6 separate regions of the Homo sapiens genome follow, and regions 1, 3, 4, 5 and 6 are each linked to region 2. Evidence: promoter capture Hi-C in human tissues and cell types (Jung and others, 2019). All regions are on one chromosome and are shown on one strand. The core of a region is centred on a gene start or on the middle of the fragment in contact, and the rest is flanking DNA. Distances in the headings are between cores, read along the strand shown. Region 1 has its middle 210 kb from the start of VEPH1. Region 2 holds the start of SHOX2 (SHOX homeobox 2). Region 3 overlaps RSRC1 (arginine and serine rich coiled-coil 1). Region 4 overlaps RSRC1 (arginine and serine rich coiled-coil 1). Region 5 has its middle 260 kb from the start of SHOX2. Region 6 overlaps RSRC1 (arginine and serine rich coiled-coil 1).

Region 1 (2,819 bases), core at 69-2,568, 390 kb before region 2:
CTCTAACTGCTCCACTGACTGCCCAGCTCCTGTCTCTCTCTCACTCCTCAGGCCTCACTGCTCCCTGAGACACAACAATATTAAAATTGAGCCAGTTAATAACCCTACAATGGTCTTTAAGTGTTCAACTGAAAAGAGTGGCAAGTCTTTCATTTGAAATCAAAAGCTTAAAATGATGAAGCTTAGTGAGGAAGGCAGGTTGAATGCTAAGATAGGCCAAAAGCTAGACCTCTTGTGCCAAATAGTTAGCTAAGTTGTGAATCCAAAGAAAATGTTCCTGAAAGAAGTTAAAAATGCTACTGACTTTTAATGAACACAAAAATGATTAAAAAAAAAAAAAGTACAGCAGCCTTATTGCTGTTAAGGAGAAAGTTTTAGTGATCTTGATAGAAGGTCAAACCAGCCACAACATTCCTTTAAGCCAAAGACTAATCCAGAGCAAGGCCTTAACTGTTCACTGTTATGAAGCTGAGAGAGGTGAGAAAGTCATGGAGGGGAAGTTTGAAGCTAGCAGAAGTTAGTTCATGAGGGTTAAGGAAGGAAGCTACCTCCATAACATCAAAGTACAAAGCTGGAAGTGAAGTAGGAAGTGCTGATGTAGAAACTGCAGCAAGTTTTCCAGAAGAGCTAGCTAAGATAACTGATGAAGGTGGCTACACTAAACAACAGATTTTCAATGTAGATGAAACAGCCTATTGAAAGAAGATGTCATCTAGAACTTTCATAGCTAGAGAAGAGAAGTCAATGCCTAACCTCAGATCTTCAAACAACAGGCTGACTCTATTGTTAGTAACTAATGCAGCTAGTGACTTCAGTTGAAGCCAATGTCCATTTACCATTCCAAAAATCCTAGTGCCTTAAGAATTATGCTAAATCTATTCTGCCTGTGCACTATAAATGGAACAACAAAACCTGGATGATAGTATAACTGTTTACATGGTTTTCTGAATATTTTAACCCTACTGTTGAGATCCACTGCTCAGAAATAGATGCTTCTCAAAATATTACTGCTTCTTGACAAGGCACCTGGTCACTTAAGGGCTCTGATGGAGATGTACAAGGAGATTAATGTTGTTTACACGCCTGCTAATCCCTCCATTTTACACCTTATGGGTCAAGGAGTAATTTTGACTTTCAAGCCTTATTATTTAAGAAATACATTCTGTAAGATGCCATGAATAGTGATTGCTCTGATGGATCTGGGCAAAGCAAATTGAAATCCGTCTGAGAAGGACTCACATTCGAGATGCATTAAGAATGTTCATGATTCATGGGAGGAGGTCAAAATATCAAGGTCAACAAGCATGTGGAAGAAATTGATTCCAACCCTCACAGATGACTTTGAGAGGTTAAAGACTTCAGTGGAGGAAGTAACTGCAGATGTTGTGGAAATAACAAAAGAACTGGAATTAGAAGTGAAGCCTAAAGATGTGACTGAATTGCTTCAGTCTCATAATCAAATTTGAAGAGCTAAGGAGTTGCTTCTTGTGGATGAGCAAAGAAAGGGGTCTCTTGAGATGGAATCTGCTCCTGGTGAAGATGCTGTAAATATTGTTAAAATAACAACAAAGGATTTCAAATATTACATAACCTTAATTGCTAAAACAGTGGCAGAGTTTGAGAGGATTGACTCCACTTTGGAAAGAAGTTCTACTGTAGGTAAAATGCTAGGCAACACCGTTGCATGCTAAGAGAACTCTTTGGAGAAAGGAAGAGTCAATCAATGTGGCAAACTTCATTTTTGTCTTATTTTAAGAAATTACAACTGCCACCCCAACCCTTTAGCAATCACCACCCTAATCAGTCAGCAGCCATCAACATTGAGGCAAGATCCTCTACCAGCAAAAAGATTACACCTCATTGAGTGCTCAGATGATTGTTGCCATTTCCTAGCAATAAAGTATTTTTTTACTAAGGTATGTACATTGTTTTTCAGACATAATGCTATTGCACACTTAATAGATAGACTACAGCATAAGGTAAACAGACCTTTTATATGCACTAGGAAACAAAAAAATATAGTGTGACTCACTTTATTGTGATATTTGCTCTATTGCAGTGGTCTGGAACCAAATCCACAATATCTCAAAGGCATGCCTGTATGTAGTTCAAGCTTTTGTCACTCAGTCTTTTTATTTACCCACTTCCTCTAAAGCTAGGTGATACAAAAGAAAAATTATTCCAGTGCTCACTCAAATGGCTTGGAAATAAGCTAGAGATTATTTCTCAGTCTATTACATAATAATTACTGTTTTGAAGTGCATAGTATCCATGTCTGTTCCCCATAATGCATTGCTTTTTTCTTTTCTCCAGGTGTACATTGGAACCCAGTCACATGGCCCATAAACAGATCATTTGTTCAAGCACCTTTCCTGAGAATCTAAGTCTTCATTTGACAAGTCTAACACTCTTTTTCAATGACTGCATGATATCACAGTCTGGTTAACACTAAGCTGTAGGTTCCCTAAAGCTAGGATTGTTGTGTGTATGTGTATGTGCATGTGTCCATGCATGTGTATATGTGTGTGTTTAACTACTATCTTTAAAGTAACCTAGGAGTTTATGTCTCCTCTGCTATTTTCAATTTCTAGGCTCTTTGGTATAGACAAAGAGAAATCATTGTCTTTTCCTCACTCCCTTTCAAATCAGATGCAGTTTGGAAGAAAAGTAACAATTATTTTTTAGTCCATGTCCTTTCCAATAATAAGGACAAATATAGAAACGTGTCCTGCTGCTTCATGTAGAATTATTTTAAGCCTATTAAGTAGGCCTATCCAACTTTAATCAGGTACAGACAAGAGCTTGCTGATCTGTGCATT
Region 2 (2,877 bases), core at 250-2,749:
TTTCCTAACACTGAGCTAGCACCAAAGGATTTTTGCTCTAAGAGAACCGAGTACTGGGTGATTGAAAACACTAAAGGAATTGTGTAAATATAGATCCCCACCTCCCCCGCCGCCCCCCCCCCCCGCCCCCAACACACCAAGAAACCGAAACGCCTCGCCCGGGAGAAGCAGCGTAGCCTGGACCTCAGCTTTCGTTGGCTTCCTTCTACCTTGAAAGAGAATGGGAAGTTTTGGCCCCTAAGATCCAAAGATTCAGGGGCTCTGCGGAGTTCGAGGGGTCTTGGCGGCCCCAAACACCTAGGCGACCGGAGGGTTAAGCTTTCCACCTCTGCCCCTTCTCCCTCCCGGCAAACTCTGCGCTAGAGGCTAGCTTTAGTCCCGCCGTCTGGTTCAGCACCCCCTCCTGCAGCCCGGCCCCGCGAACTTCCACGTCCGCCTGCGGGCCATCCGGGCTGCGGGCCCATCCTCCCGCTGGTGAAAAATGCATTTCGGTGGAATGGGAACATCTGGGAAGGGCGCGCACAAACCCCACACGCTTCCCCCCACGCCACCCCCACAACACACTAGGACCCCACCCATGACCGAGCATACCACCGGACCCCCACCCTTCCACTATCACTCTAGCTGACAAAGCTGGGGTCCAGGGCCCTCTCCGTGTCCCTCTCCCCTCCCCGCTGGGCCTCGGAGTCCTCTCCCGCCCGAGAGGAGTCCGGAAGGCGGGAAGGGGAACCGCTGCCGGGGGTCAGTCAGGTCGTTACCCTCCGTCAGTCGCGGGCTGCCCGGCTCCCTGCTTCTCTCGGCGGCGCCCATGTCCAGCTCCCGGACGGGAGAGCGCCCTCCTCCAGCTCCTCCGCCTGCTCCTCCTCCTCCTACACCTCCTCCGCCTCCTCCGCCGCCGCCTCCGCCTCCTCCGCCGCCGCCTCCGCCGGCCGCCCGGACTGCCGGGCTGCTGCGGTCGTCGCGGCCCGCCTCGGTGCAGCCGGTCGGCTCCTTGGCCCCGCGCAGCGGCCCGCTCTCCAGCACCTCCCGGTACGTGATCGCCTCCTTCTTCTCCTTCACTTTCTGGTCAAAAGACTTGGAGACGAACGCCGTAAGTTCTTCCATCGCCGCCGCACGTCAGCCCGGCGCTCAACCTCTGCCAGCAGAGCCCCGCTCTTTTTTTCCTTCTTCTTTTTTTACTGCTCCAGCCCCCCCAATAATAACACATCAATGGGACAGGAGGTGGGGGAGGAGAGGGAGGAGGAGAAAGAAGAAGAAAAAGAGGAGAAGAAAGAAGAAAGAGGAGGAGAAGTAGAAGGAGAAAAAGAAGTAAGAAGAGGAGGAGGAGGAAGAAGAGGAAGAGGGGGAGAAGGGTGAAGAGGAGAGGGAGGAGGAGGAGGAGAAGAGAAGGGGCGGGGGCTGCCGGAGGGAAATGGGAACTGATGCTTCCCTGCCGGAGCGCGCTTGTTCAATGTTAAGATCTTTGACAATTCTTCCTGCGGAGAGTTCAGATCTGATAGCGACGCTGCGCTTGAAGTCCCACTATTTATACTTCCTAACGGCGGCCTCTTGTTTTGAGTAAATTACCTCCCCTCGCAACTCGGAGTGAGCCCCCTTCCCGGGTAGCAGTCGCGCCTCTACCGGGGGTTGGGGAGGGGAAAAGGAGAGAAACAGAGAGAGAGAGAGAGAGAGAGAGAGAGAGAGAGAGAGAGAGAGAGAGAAGAGGAGAGAGAGAGATTGGAGTTCGGGCGGGCTGGGGCTGGAGTGGTAGGGCAGCACAGGGGGACCGGAGGGGGCGGGGAGAGAAGGCCGGTCCCCGGCCGCTCAGGTTTTCAGATAGCCCCTGCCGCCTGTGCTCTTGGCCATTAATCCAGGATTGACAAGAATCCCTAATTAATTTAATTAGGCGTGGATTTTGCGTTGGTGTCACGACTTAGTTAAACACTGGGGAGCTGGATAGACCCCGCGGGGTGGGGCCAAGAGGAAACTGACAAGTGCGCAGCTCTTAGAGTCAGTCAGGTATCCCGACACTGCATCCTTCCCTACAGCCTTGCTTCGAGTCAGGGTGCCTCGCAATGCTCAGCTTCGCATTGCTTTTCCTCGTCCCTGCCCTGCATCAACCGCCCAGCAGTTTACAGGCCCCGCATCCCATTCCCGCATCCTGACCCCGCATCCCAATTCTGCATCCCCGCCTCTCCCTCACAATCCCACCCCTGCCGGCCGTAGCTCCACCGCCCAGCATCATCCTGCCCAGAGACAGGGTTGCCTGCACCTTCTCCGACCCGCGCAGCTTCTCTTAGGAGCTTCCCGGCTCGCAGGCAGGCTGAGTCCGGGTCTTCTCCAAGCTCCTCGCCCCTCGGTCCGTGTTATTCGCTCTATTATTCGTGTCCTGGAGCCCAGCTGACTCCTCTATGGACAGACCCCGCTAAAAGGGACCAGTCGATTTAACAAGTTTCCCCAGCAGCTGTTAGCTGACAGATCTCATTTTAAAGTGTTTCCTTAGCGCCCGGTCAAGGACAGCTCGACTTCGTTCGTTTCCTCTCTGAGGTCTCAGAACTCCCACCCTTCTCCCTTACTCTCTGCACTCGGACCCCTCTATGGTGAATTACAGGACTTCTTCTTTAGCATCTTGGGAAACATCCGAGTTTATTTACTAATTTGAAAAACAAGAGATTATCCCTCTTCGAGTCTGAAAAAAAAATCGACGTTAAGTTTGTACCCCCTCTAATTTCATTTATTACGGAGAGCTAAAAAAGAGACGCTCGCCAGGAGTAAAGGTCTCTCTGCCTACCCCCCCCACCACCCCGCTTACGATTTAAAATTCTATTTCTGGGCTATTTTCATCGGAACGGTTTGTTACGTTAGAGGAACATCTATATTCCTGAGTCATTTGTCTGT
Region 3 (2,774 bases), core at 175-2,674, 280 kb after region 2:
CAATCTCTAAGTCATTTGTAATCATGAGCTGATTAATGGAGTTTGGTTTCATAGCCATTATTCATTCACGAACACCTGATATCTTTCCCATAAACAAATTGTGTTTGTCCAAATTAAGAAATTAAATGAAGCATTTGATGAGTTTATGATTGACCCTTCTAACTCAGAGCCCATTAGTCATTGTCGTTATCATAGAAAACTCTTTGACTAATGTGCTGTCTAAAGAAGCATGTGGATTTATTATGACTTCTGATTAATGCTTGCTGCAAGCCAAACTACTAGATTATAATAATTTTTTGATTCTCATTTTAGCAGTCATTGAAGAATTTCATCTCTGATGAAATGCGTTTATGTCCCATTAGATTTAGGGATGATTACAAGTTATTGAGTGGATAAATTTTTAAGGTATTATATGTTTTAGAAAACATACAGTATATGCTTTAAAAAAAGGCATTTTTTAAAAAAGCTGTTTTTTGTCTTTTAACTTTGTGGACATCATCTTTCCCTTTTAAGGTAATGAGCCTATTATTTAGATTTTATGAACTAGTACTTATTAATTTATTAAGAAATTTAAATAGGAGAAGTACATGTATGAATTTATAACACTTGAAGTTCAACTTATCAATTTAAAATATTTATTTTAAAATTGTATGTAATCTTGTTTAATACATTTTAGTTTTGACAACAAAGTAAATCCCTCTTTGCCCAATTTATTCTCATTATAAAGTAAGAACAAGATTTCCACCTTAAAAAAAGCTCTTTAATAGACGAATATAGCTAAACCACTGTTAACGTAGGTCTTGTAGTGAGATACCTGCTAGAGGCTATATTATATGACCAACACACTATTATTATGAAACTAAGGACCTCAATATGGCCAAGCTGTTGTTTAATTTGTATTGGGGGGAAAAGGCAGTTTAAAAGATGGAAACATTGATTGACTTTCATCAGAATCCATGTTATTAACAGAGTTTACAAGGCAGAAATGTAGGGTTTATAGTCTTTGTTGTTAAGTAAATTGACTTATATGCCTCTTAAAATGGGGAAGAGGTGAGCAGCATGCATGTTCACAGGACCATAATGTGAGTCGTATTCACTAGACCAAAAAAAAAAAAAAGATAATTTTATTACGTATTATTGCAAAATCATCGAAAAGAATGGCTTTATTGCCCATGGTAGTACATGGAAATAAAATGAATATTTTGAGCAGACAACAATGAAATAAGAAACATTTTATTTTAAAAGAAATTCCATGAAGTACATACCATTTCTTGTTTTATATAACAAAATACTGTGTAATATAACCCGAAGTCACATGTGAAATTACATTTCTTTGTGACATTTTCATTAAAAAAAAAGTGGTTGGTTTAGTTACAGTTTTCCAGATATGACCTCTGAGTAATTAGGGAAATATCTGCCTCTATATATGTCTCAAATACAAATATAAGGATTATCTTTGATAAACCTGTCTCATTTCTCTGAGTACTACAGGCAATTAAGAGCCATTCAGTCACGTTTAATTATAAAACCTTCTGGTCAGAGAAGTTTCCTATCTCCCTTTGGGATTTATCTATGGCATTAGGTTCTGGACTACTCCAACTTTTGGCCTGGAATACTGATCAAGCAATTTGGGAACTTTAAAAAGGACCAGTATAATCAAGTGAATACTGGTTGCTTAGTAAGAGACAGAAACAGCCTATCAGTCAAATAATAGTGGTAACATTTAGCCTTAGAGTAGTTCCTTTAGCTTATTAAATAAAAAAATTAAGTCAACTAGAATGCATAACATAAGTATGAACCATCCACACCAAATTCATTGGTCATCTACAGTATTTGCACTTAAAATTCCATAGTTTTTCACTGGACTCAGTGCCTTAATATCTTTGTTAATAATTTAAACTACTGTGAAATAAAGGGGAAAAACTGTAAATCCTTACAAGTATTGGTATGGTTTACATTCCAGATCCAGACAAAATATCATGAAAACCTTTTAGTGTGTGACCAAGGATAAGATTTAGTTGGAGAAGAAAGGGTCATTTTTCCTTCTTGTATCATTATTTTTAAAACGTTTGCTTTAAAAAGAAATCATAGTTTGATGCATAGAATGTTTTGTGAAATGAGTCTTCTCAATATAGCTGGCTTTTTATCCTCACTAGAGGTTCTTAAGGCATCTCAGTGACAAACGCACACATGCACATATACTGAAAATAGACATGGTGATAACAAAAGGAATGCACAGAAGCATAATCTATCATTTTTGGCAGGCTAAGAAAGTTGGTTTAATGTACTGGAAGTGTCAAATAAGTATCAAGAAGTAATAAATGAAATTAATAACTAGATTAGAAAAACTTATTTACCTAGTGCAATATTCCAGTTGTTGATCTTTGTAAGACATTGGCTGACTGCTATGGAAGCTTTCTTTATTCATTTGAATATATATATATTTTATCAAACATTAATATTATATAAAATTTTATAAATGGATTTATTTTCTTGTTTCCATTATAAAATGGGAGCTAAATTATTTTTAAAAATTGATTCTTAGACATAATGAGATTATTTTTAAATAACTTTTTAAACATATTTATGGAAAAATAATCCTTGATATATTAACAGTAATATTACTTTATGTTGTGTGTACTGTAACCATTTTCAAGATATCACCCTTTACATTATTTCATGATTCCCATATACTCTTATGAAATGAGCAGTGCATGTACTAATATTCCCATTTTAAACATGAGGAAATGAGGCTTAGAGAAGTTAGGAAACTT
Region 4 (2,752 bases), core at 210-2,709, 300 kb after region 2:
CTCTCTGGGTCGTAGCTTTCTTATCTGTAAAATGAGGAGATTGTGTAAGAGAGGTTGGGGTTGGTCAGGGAATGATATACAGTGTCCCAAGGAGCTTTTTCAAAATAGGCATTCCACCAGACACTTTTCCCCATACTGAGATTGGCTCTAGATACACCTTCCTCAGCTCGTTCACTGAGCCATTATTAAAACTTATTTTCTCAACCTTCTAACTGATGTATTTAGCTGTCGTTTTTAGAGAGTTTTAGTCACCAGAGACATATGGAAAATATAGCAGTTGTACTTAGAAGTCAAAGAGTAAACATAAGCATGATTTATTACTGCTAAATTTAGTCAACACTGGCATATTGAGCCTCCTGATAAAGGTAACAGGCCATCTAGCCATATAACAGAAATGGTAATGCAGACATAGTCTGATAATTTGCTATCTTGAAAAACACTAACTTATGAACTTATTACTAAAACCTCACGTTATAGCTAAGGAATAAGGAAAGGCAAATAGGCATCGCAGAAAAAAAATGAGCAAATTTAGAGATTTTGTTTACGTTTTATCTCCAGTAATCATTTAGAGTGAATTAAGATCTCTTAGCTTCTTTTAAAAACACTGATGACCTAGGAAAAAATATGTCCTATGCAGGGACATGGCTGCAGCTGGAGACCATTATCCTTAGCAAACTAACACAGGAACAGAAAACCAAATACCACATGTTTTCACTTATAAGTGGGAGCCAGGCCAGGCGTGGTGGCTCGTGCCTGTAATCCCAGCACTTTAGGAGACCAAGGTAGGGGGATCACTTGAGGCCAGGAGTTTGAGACCAGCCTGGCCAACATGGTGAGACCCCCGTCTCTACTAAAAATATAAAAATTAGCTGGACATGGTGGCTCAGGCTTGTAATCCCAGCTACTTGGGAGGCTGAGGCAGGAGAATTGCTTGAACCCAGGAGGCAGAGGTTGCAGTGAGCCGAGATCACGCTACTGCACTCCAGCCTGGGCAACAAGACAAGATTCCGTCTGAATAATAATAATAATAATAATTAATAAAATAAGTGGGAGCTAAATGATGAGAACACACAGACACGTAGAGGGGAACAACAGCACACACTGGGGCCTATTGGAAGGTGGAGGGTGAGAGGAGGGATAGGATCAGGAACAATAACTAATGGATACTAGGCTTAATAGGTGGATGGTGAAATAATCTATACAGTAAACCCCCAGGACACAAGTTTGCCTGTGTAACAAACCTACACACATACCCTGAACTTAAAAGTTTAAAAAATGCTGCATTTGAATTCACAAAATGCAAAGTGAGAGCAACTAGAGGGATATAAAGAGTCCAGCAAGTCACAAATATAGGTATACACAAAACTTGTTAGAGGAGCAGTTGAACAGAGAGGGACATAATGTTTTGTTATATTTGTTGTTTCTTGATTTTATTAAATCTATTTATTTTCTTTATTTGCTTTATTTTTCTTTATCACATTCACCACTCCCTAACATTGTATTTTATGTCTGATTAGTGGGTTAGCCTCAGGCTTTCTTACTAGAAAGTGAGCTCCCTAAAAGCAGGAATTTTGCCTATTTGTTCAATAACATGTCCCCCATCCTAGAAGACTGACTGGCACATGGTAGGTGCTCATTAAACTTACAGTCTCCTGAGAGCTATTGCCTATTATCACCAAAGAGAGTTTTGTGATATGAACTGTGCTTTAGGATGATAACTTTGTTGGGGTCAGAAGGTTAATGATGAGTTGTGCTGTGAATGAGATGATGAAAGCAAAAATTAGAAAAAACCATTAGAATAATAAAAGAGGGCATATGAAAATCTGTAAATCGGATCCTATTAATCTCCTGCACTGAACCCTTCAATGGCTTCCATCTGCCCATAGGATACAATTTCAGAATTCTTTTTTTTTTAGTAAAAGAGAATGATTTATCTGTTCAATTGTCATTTGATATAAGTGATAGCATTTAGAACACAATTCTAGGAAACATTTGTGAAAGGATATAGGAAAGTTTTACAGTCATAGTCTCATACATTCAAACAAAATCACAGTAAAATGGTTTCTTAACAGAATTGTAATGAAGTTACTATTTTTTAAAAAAAGCGGGCAATTTTCTTTGTTCATTTGTTTATTAATTCAGCTATTTGTTGTTACCTACTGGAATTCTTAATATAGCTACAAGCTTCCATGGTTTGCTCATGTCTACTTCTCCAGTCTCATCCTGGACCACTCTAACCCATTGGCTTGCTTTTTTAGTTCCTTGGTTTGTACCTGTTTTTCCATCTACCTGAAATACTTACCTCTTCCCTCTCTCCCAGATGAATTTAGGCTTATTATTAAAGTTTCAGCTTAAACTTTATATCTCAGTGAAACATTCCTGACACCTAACACTAGGTTATAACAGCTTCTCTCAAAGCATCACAAACTTCTTTCATAGTAATCAACAAACTTTTTGATTTAAAATGATTTTCATGATTGTCTGATGTTTCTCTCTCACGACTTTTATGGTAAAAAAATAAATAAGACTTTTATGGTCAGACCGTATCTGTTTTGTATACCATGTCTTCAACACCTAGCATAGTTCCTAGCATATAGAAGGTGCTCAAAAAGTATCTAGCTATCTAGCTGTCTATCTCTATCATCTATCTTTGTAAAAATCTTTCAACTCTTGTAATTTCAGCTATTCAGCATTTATAATTGCCCTTAGGATTTTTTTCTGATGCTTTGTAATATGAACTATAACTCAGAGA
Region 5 (3,074 bases), core at 444-2,943, 260 kb before region 2:
AAGGATTTCTTAAGGAGCTGTATTTTACTGTTTATTCAAACAACTAATGCTGTCCTTTTCTAAAGATTATTTCTTTCATGTAGCCTAGACCTTATGAGATAACTTCTTTAAGCAGTTCTTTTTGTATGATTAAGGTTCATAAACTTCCTTGGGTAAAAATGAGAAGAGATTATTTTAAGTCTCATCCTTTTTGTCTCTTGAAAAAGTCACCTAAAAAATTGAGGCCAACTTTCCATAAAGCTGTTATAAAAGGCAGTGGAGAAGCCAGCTTTCTCTAGGGACTTATCCAATTACACGAACTGCGTGGTCTTACCCTAAGAGACAGGAGAATTCAAAATTGTGTTTCTCTGATTGTGGCAGAGAGTGTAAAGGGAGAAATCTAAGAAATTCAATTATCTCCCTAGGTGTCACTCAGCTTTGGGACTAATATAATTGGCTATAAATAATATGAGCACATATCAGGCAGAACCTCTGCGGGTTTCATTACAAATACCCTTGTCACTGAGTTGCTAACAACTGGGCTTGCCATGTGGGTGAGTGGGGGTTGCAACTGCAAAGAGATTACTTTGCCAACCACTGGTTTTCCTCATTTTCATGGTCTTCTTTACATATTTTAATTAATGTCCCAAATGTAACATTTTAAGTATGTATTGCCTTTTCAGCACACACCAAAATGACCTTTTAAAGTAACTGTTTAAAATCCAAGGCAATGTTTGATTACCAACTCAGTACTCCATAGCATAACGTTTCTCTTTTTCATGCTCCTGAAATTTAATGGAGTTGTGCAATAGCAGGGGATATGAGTATGAATGGTTAATGTAACAGAATTCTCATTTTCAAAGCATTGTGCTAGAGGCCCATTCTGACTGTCTGTGTGGGGATTTCCCTTGACCACATTCCAGTAAAGACTTCCTAGCTGTGAAAAGGGGAAAACTTTGGCTCTCTACTTTATTGATAGCACACAGTAGGCAATTAATACAATTTGCTATTTTTATCCTAATTAAGCCTGTGAAAACCAAAACATGTTGATAGAATGTTTGAACAGTGCCACGAAGGATGAGGGTTTTGTAACCATGCCCACATGGATGGGCAAGCCCATATGTATTTTGAAGTCACCAGTGTTCCAAAGGGTTTTTCAAATGTTTTGAGTTTAACCAAACCCTAAACACATTGTGCCAAGTACTATTTTCCTTTAAATTTCAAACCCATGTGAATTTTAAGGGAAATTAAATCCACATGTTTCTGATTCGTTTTTACTTAAATCATTAAAATGCTGTTTTGGACGAGCCATTTGATTTCCAAGAAGCTTTCCTTCACAAACTCCTTTATGCCTTTTTGGTGTGGGGTCAAAAACAGGAAGTCATACTTTGACAATGATAAATTAATTGTGACATCAAACAGTGCAAATCCAAACCCTAGCACTCTAACAATATTCAGCAGTTGACAGATTCATTTTCCTAATTTTATGTCAGGAAATGCTTGCATTTTTCCTTATTTTCCCAGCATAATTTAAGAAGCAAACTATCTCACCTACAACCACTAGGCTACAGAGAATCCATATCTGGAGTTTTACTGATTTTGCAAAATGAGGCAGCAGCATTATTTTGCAGCTCCATTCAATGTAGACAGTCTTATCCAAGGAAAAGTTAGAAAATACACACAAATTCATCTTCCTTCATCCAGGTTTAACTATCCTGAGTAAGCTGTCTTATAAACGTCATGCAAAACCTTAGAGGAAGTTACCTAGGATATGGCAAGGAAAATAGTCATCATATCGTGAGTCTCATCTCAATCTGACTCTTGATTTCATATTTCCCATTAAGCCCCCTCTCCCCGAGTATTCCCTCTTAAATACCTTTTATTCCTTCCCATCACCTCTAACTATTTATTTATTTATTTATTTATTTATTTATTTATTTTGAGATGGAGTTTCGCTCTTGTTGTCCAGGCTGGAGTGCAATAGCGTGATCTCGGCTCACTGCAAACTCTGCCTCCCAGGTTCAAGTGATTCTCCTGCCTCACCCTCCCAAGTAGCTAGGATTACAGGTGCCCGCCACAACCAGCTAATTTTTTTGTATTTAGTAGAGATGAGGTTTCACCATGTTGGTCAGGCTAGTCTCGAACTCCTGACCTCAGATGATCCACCCGCCTCAGCCTCCCAAAGTGCTGGGATTACAAGCATGAGCCACTGCGTCCGGCACCCTCACCTCTAACTTTAAACTTCACATGCCTTCCCCATCCTTTGGAAAAAAAGAAAAAGAAGAGAAACACTTGGCCTAGTAGCCTCCTCTAGCCATCTTCATGCATCATTCTTTTCTTCTACTCCCAAACTTATAAAACTTAATCTCACTGATCAGCTCTCCTTTCCACCACTGTCTTCTTAACATCTTACTGATAATGTCCAAATCTATGTTTTTAGTGTCAATCTTGAATAGTTACCAAACAATCCCACTTGAATATTTTGCCAAACTTTACTTGATGAAAATTTATACAAAACTTATCCCCTACTGATGAATTCCCCATTTCTATGAGTGTTACTGAGCTTGAAGCTACTTTGTCACATGTCTAGCCAGTAACCATTTGTTGGTAATTTGGTGCAATAATGCAACTTCATTCTCCCCATCCTTTTCATCTCCACCACTCAGCCCTTCACCACCTCTTAATTGTGCCTACTGAATGATCTGTTTGTCTCTAGTTTCCCTTCTGATTCCAGGCTATACTGGCCAACAGATTAATCTTTCTGAAATGCTTGTTGCTGATTTAACTCCCCTATTTGAGAAGGTCATGGTTCCCTGCTGCCAACAGAACAAAGTTTAAATGTCTTAACCTTGCATACTTAAAGTGGTTAAACACTCTGTATAATCTGATTATAACCTAAAGGTTTATGAATTCTCTCTTTAGGGTTAACTGATCAACTAATTGTTCCCTGAACATAATTTGTCCTGTCTGCCACCTTCTGCCTTCCCTCCATTCTGCCCCTAAATCTTACCTATTCAATAAGATCCATTCATCCTCATCCATGAGGCTTTCCCAGATTAGGCTTTCCCAGGAAAAATATTCTCCCCTCCTTTATA
Region 6 (2,973 bases), core at 17-2,516, 260 kb after region 2:
TTTCCAATGAAATAAACTTCCAAAGGTCAGGAACTGTATATTTATCCAGACATGGTGGCTCACTCCTATAATCCCAGCACTGTAGGAGGCCAAGATGGGAGGATCATTTGAGCCCAGGAGTTCGAGACCAGCCTAGGCAACATGGTAAAACCCTGTCTCTACAAAAAAATACAAAAATTAGCCAGGCATGGTGGCACATGCTTCTGGTCCTAGCCTCTTGGGAGGCTGAGGTGGGACATTGCTTGTGCCCGAGTGAAGTCAAGGGTTCCGTGAGCTGTGATTGCGCCACTGCACTCCAGTGTGGGTGACAGAGTAAGACCCTGTCTCAAAAAAAATAGAAATTACATTTAAAACTTCTACATCTTTCCCAGCAGTTTTAACAATACCTATAGTAGTACTACATCAGAGAACATTTTAGCTGTTAATCTTTTGTAAGTAAGTCATTGTAGAGAAACAGAGGATCTAGCTGTCTGAAAAACATTTAGATGCTGATGTGCTCATTTTAACTGCTGTTTGATGGATTTTATAATAAATATACTAAGATGTTACCTAGCTTCAAAAGCAGAAGATATATGACATAACCTGACTTTTTACACTTAAACTTTAAGACAGCGCTTGACAGAAAAGACAGTAAAACATGATTATTTCACAGGGGATGGAGGGAAAACAGGAAGTTTAGGTAAGGACTCCTTTGTCTCCATCACTTTTGCTGTTGCCTTTGTTTGTCTTGATAGCCCCATTCCAAACATTATCTAGATTTTCTGCAAAAACGTATTATCATCTTATCCCAAATGTGTCCATGGGTCTAAAGAATTTAGAAGAGAGATTTTTCCAAAAGATATTTTTTATCAGTATGAGAAGACAATACCTGTAACACAATTTTCTTTGAAGCCTTCTCAATATTTTACTTTTAATAGAATTGACACATGCACCTTTAAAATTATATTTCTAATGTTATAAGAAAAGATAGAAATTTCTTTTTGTACATATGTGGTAAAACAACTTATAAAATCTCTGCATAACAGTATTTCATTTTCTGCATAGTATCTACAACCTTTGGATTGTACCTTATAGTTTTCAAAGCACTTTAATAAATCTTTATCTTTTGACTCATATCACTGCATGGAGAGTTAATTAGGTCCAGTTTACAAGTATTCTGAAAGCTTAAATGACTTGTAAAAAGTTACAGAGCTAATAAGTGATAGAATCAGGACTTAACTCCAGTGATTTCTGACTCTCCAGCTACTTTTTTTTTCTTTTTTTTTTTTTTGACATAGTCTTGCTCTGTCACCCAGGCTGGAGTACAGTGGCACAAGCTCGGCTCACCACGTCCTCTGTCTTCTAGGTTCAAGAGATTCTCCTGCCTTAGCCTCCCAAGTAGCTGGGATCACAGGTGCGCACCACCACACCCAGCTAATTTTTTGTATTTTTGGTGGAGACGGGGTTTTACCATGTTGGCCAGGCTGGTCTTGAACACCTGACCTCAAGTGATCTGACCGCCTCGGCCTCCCAAAGTGGTGGGATTACAGGCGTGAGCCACCATGCCCAGCCCTCGAGCTACTTCTAATTCATAAGTTAAATACCTGAGTTATGTTAGGCAGAAAGGCAATAGATAATATTACAAAATGCATAACCTTATTCTATAAGACTTCCTTCTACAATTATCTTAAAATAAAATAATTTCTATCCTCAAGTAAGCCTCTGATTCTGAAGTAAGTTTTCTTATTGATACCACAAAGGGATTAAAGCATCATTTAGGAACAATAAGTTATTTTCCTTGACTATGTAGAGTGTTTATAGTAGCTAAATTTATAACTTTGAAAAATCTAAAGTAATGTTTTATGATTTTTTTCTAACACCTAGCTATGGAAGTGAATTTTAGGGACCCTTCCTAGGAGAGAAACTGGTTAAGTGTTATCAAAACACAGATCAGTTATACATACTGTATCCAAGTAATAAGCTTTGCTGAGTAGTACGCCATAAGTGCCTCACCCCATCCCAATTTTTCTGCAGCCTGTTAAACTGAGATTTTATTCTCTTAGTTGCCTATTAAGTACCTGGAAGCCAAGTCCTGACCCTTTCTCTTCATAGCCATGTGATCCTTAGGACTCCCAACACTTCTCTAAAGTCCGTTGTAGTGTTAAATATGTGTAATTCAAAGAATTACAAATCAGATTGCTTTGATAATGTTGTACTGTTTCCGGGGAGCATAGAAAGCTGCTCTGCTTTACCCTGATCTAAAGCTGAAAGAGGTTTTGTCTGTAGGTTTCTGACCACTCACTATCTATGGCTCCGAGAAATAGTACTGATTTATTGTGAGAGAGCCTTTCATGTTAGGGCAAACCCCCCAAAAAGAGCAGGAGATTGAAACGTTTATTTTTATTTCATATAAATAGTTTACAGACTTCTTTTTTCCCCTATATAGGCTTATGCTTGATTGTGTTTTGGTAGTCCAGATTTATATTGTTTCACTAACAAACTGTGAGCTTGAGCAGATCACTTTTTATTTACTGTCCTGTAGTTTCCTCATCTGTAAAACAGAGATACTAATAGTACATAACTAATGGGTTGTTGTTATGGATTTCAATGAGTTAGTATTTATAAAACACTTAGAGCAGTACCTGATACATAGTAAGTATTCAGTTAATGTTAGCAGTAAGTATGAAAGACAATATTGTATGGTGGTGAAGTCCTCAAGTCAGGGGGCTTGGGTGCCATTCCTAGCTCTCATCTTTACTGATGAAACCATAGGAAAATTGTTAAAACCTGCTGAGCTTCAGTTTTTTATTTACAGAATGGGAAAAATAATAATAATAATAATAATAATAATAATAATATGTACCTTGTAGAGATTTATAAATAAATTAATTTAATAAAGTCTATAGAGAGATTGGGAATGGGAATTATAATAATGTGTACCTTATAGAGATTTATAAATAATTTAATAAAGTCTTTAGCAGCTAGCATATAACT

What was found. Contacts are between HindIII fragments. The study calls those that stand out against the background at their distance.
Region 1: a contact is called between a fragment that was not itself captured here and the fragment with the promoter of SHOX2 in region 2, in 1 of the 25 tissues and cell types used here (dorsolateral prefrontal cortex).
Region 3: a fragment that was not itself captured here is called in contact with the fragment with the promoter of SHOX2 in region 2 in 2 of the 25 tissues and cell types used here (lymphoblastoid cells and small bowel).
Region 4: a fragment that was not itself captured here is called in contact with the fragment with the promoter of SHOX2 in region 2 in 1 of the 25 tissues and cell types used here (lymphoblastoid cells).
Region 5: a fragment that was not itself captured here is called in contact with the fragment with the promoter of SHOX2 in region 2 in 2 of the 25 tissues and cell types used here (heart left ventricle and lymphoblastoid cells).
Region 6: a contact is called between a fragment that was not itself captured here and the fragment with the promoter of SHOX2 in region 2, in 3 of the 25 tissues and cell types used here (IMR-90 fibroblasts, lymphoblastoid cells and mesenchymal stem cells).

Annotation. Positions count from the first base shown.
Region 1 is chr3:157,711,240-157,714,058 of GRCh38, forward strand. No RefSeq gene overlaps it. Among named protein-coding and RNA genes, the nearest start is that of VEPH1, 210 kb to the left of the region's middle. The HindIII fragment of the contact is 3,724 bases long and covers 1-2,819 here.
Region 2 is chr3:158,104,921-158,107,797 of GRCh38, forward strand. It overlaps SHOX2 (SHOX homeobox 2), which reads right to left and starts at 1,500. Exons shown (of 5, transcript NM_001163678.2): 1 at 759-1,500. The coding sequence starts at 1,104. RefSeq lists a silencer at 890-939 and an enhancer at 1,688-2,191. The HindIII fragment of the contact is 9,488 bases long and covers 1-2,877 here.
Region 3 is chr3:158,385,724-158,388,497 of GRCh38, forward strand. All of the region lies in intron 6 of RSRC1 (arginine and serine rich coiled-coil 1), which reads left to right. Among named protein-coding and RNA genes, the nearest start is that of UC.134, 140 kb to the right of the region's middle. The HindIII fragment of the contact is 5,653 bases long and covers 1-2,774 here.
Region 4 is chr3:158,408,019-158,410,770 of GRCh38, forward strand. The region is part of intron 6 of RSRC1 (arginine and serine rich coiled-coil 1); the gene reads left to right. Among named protein-coding and RNA genes, the nearest start is that of UC.134, 120 kb to the right of the region's middle. RefSeq lists an enhancer at 2,671-2,752. The HindIII fragment of the contact is 7,910 bases long and covers 1-2,752 here.
Region 5 is chr3:157,844,139-157,847,212 of GRCh38, forward strand. No RefSeq gene overlaps it. Among named protein-coding and RNA genes, the nearest start is that of SHOX2, 260 kb to the right of the region's middle. The HindIII fragment of the contact is 4,143 bases long and covers 1-3,074 here.
Region 6 is chr3:158,362,014-158,364,986 of GRCh38, forward strand. All of the region lies in intron 6 of RSRC1 (arginine and serine rich coiled-coil 1), which reads left to right. Among named protein-coding and RNA genes, the nearest start is that of UC.134, 160 kb to the right of the region's middle. The HindIII fragment of the contact is 5,175 bases long and covers 1-2,973 here.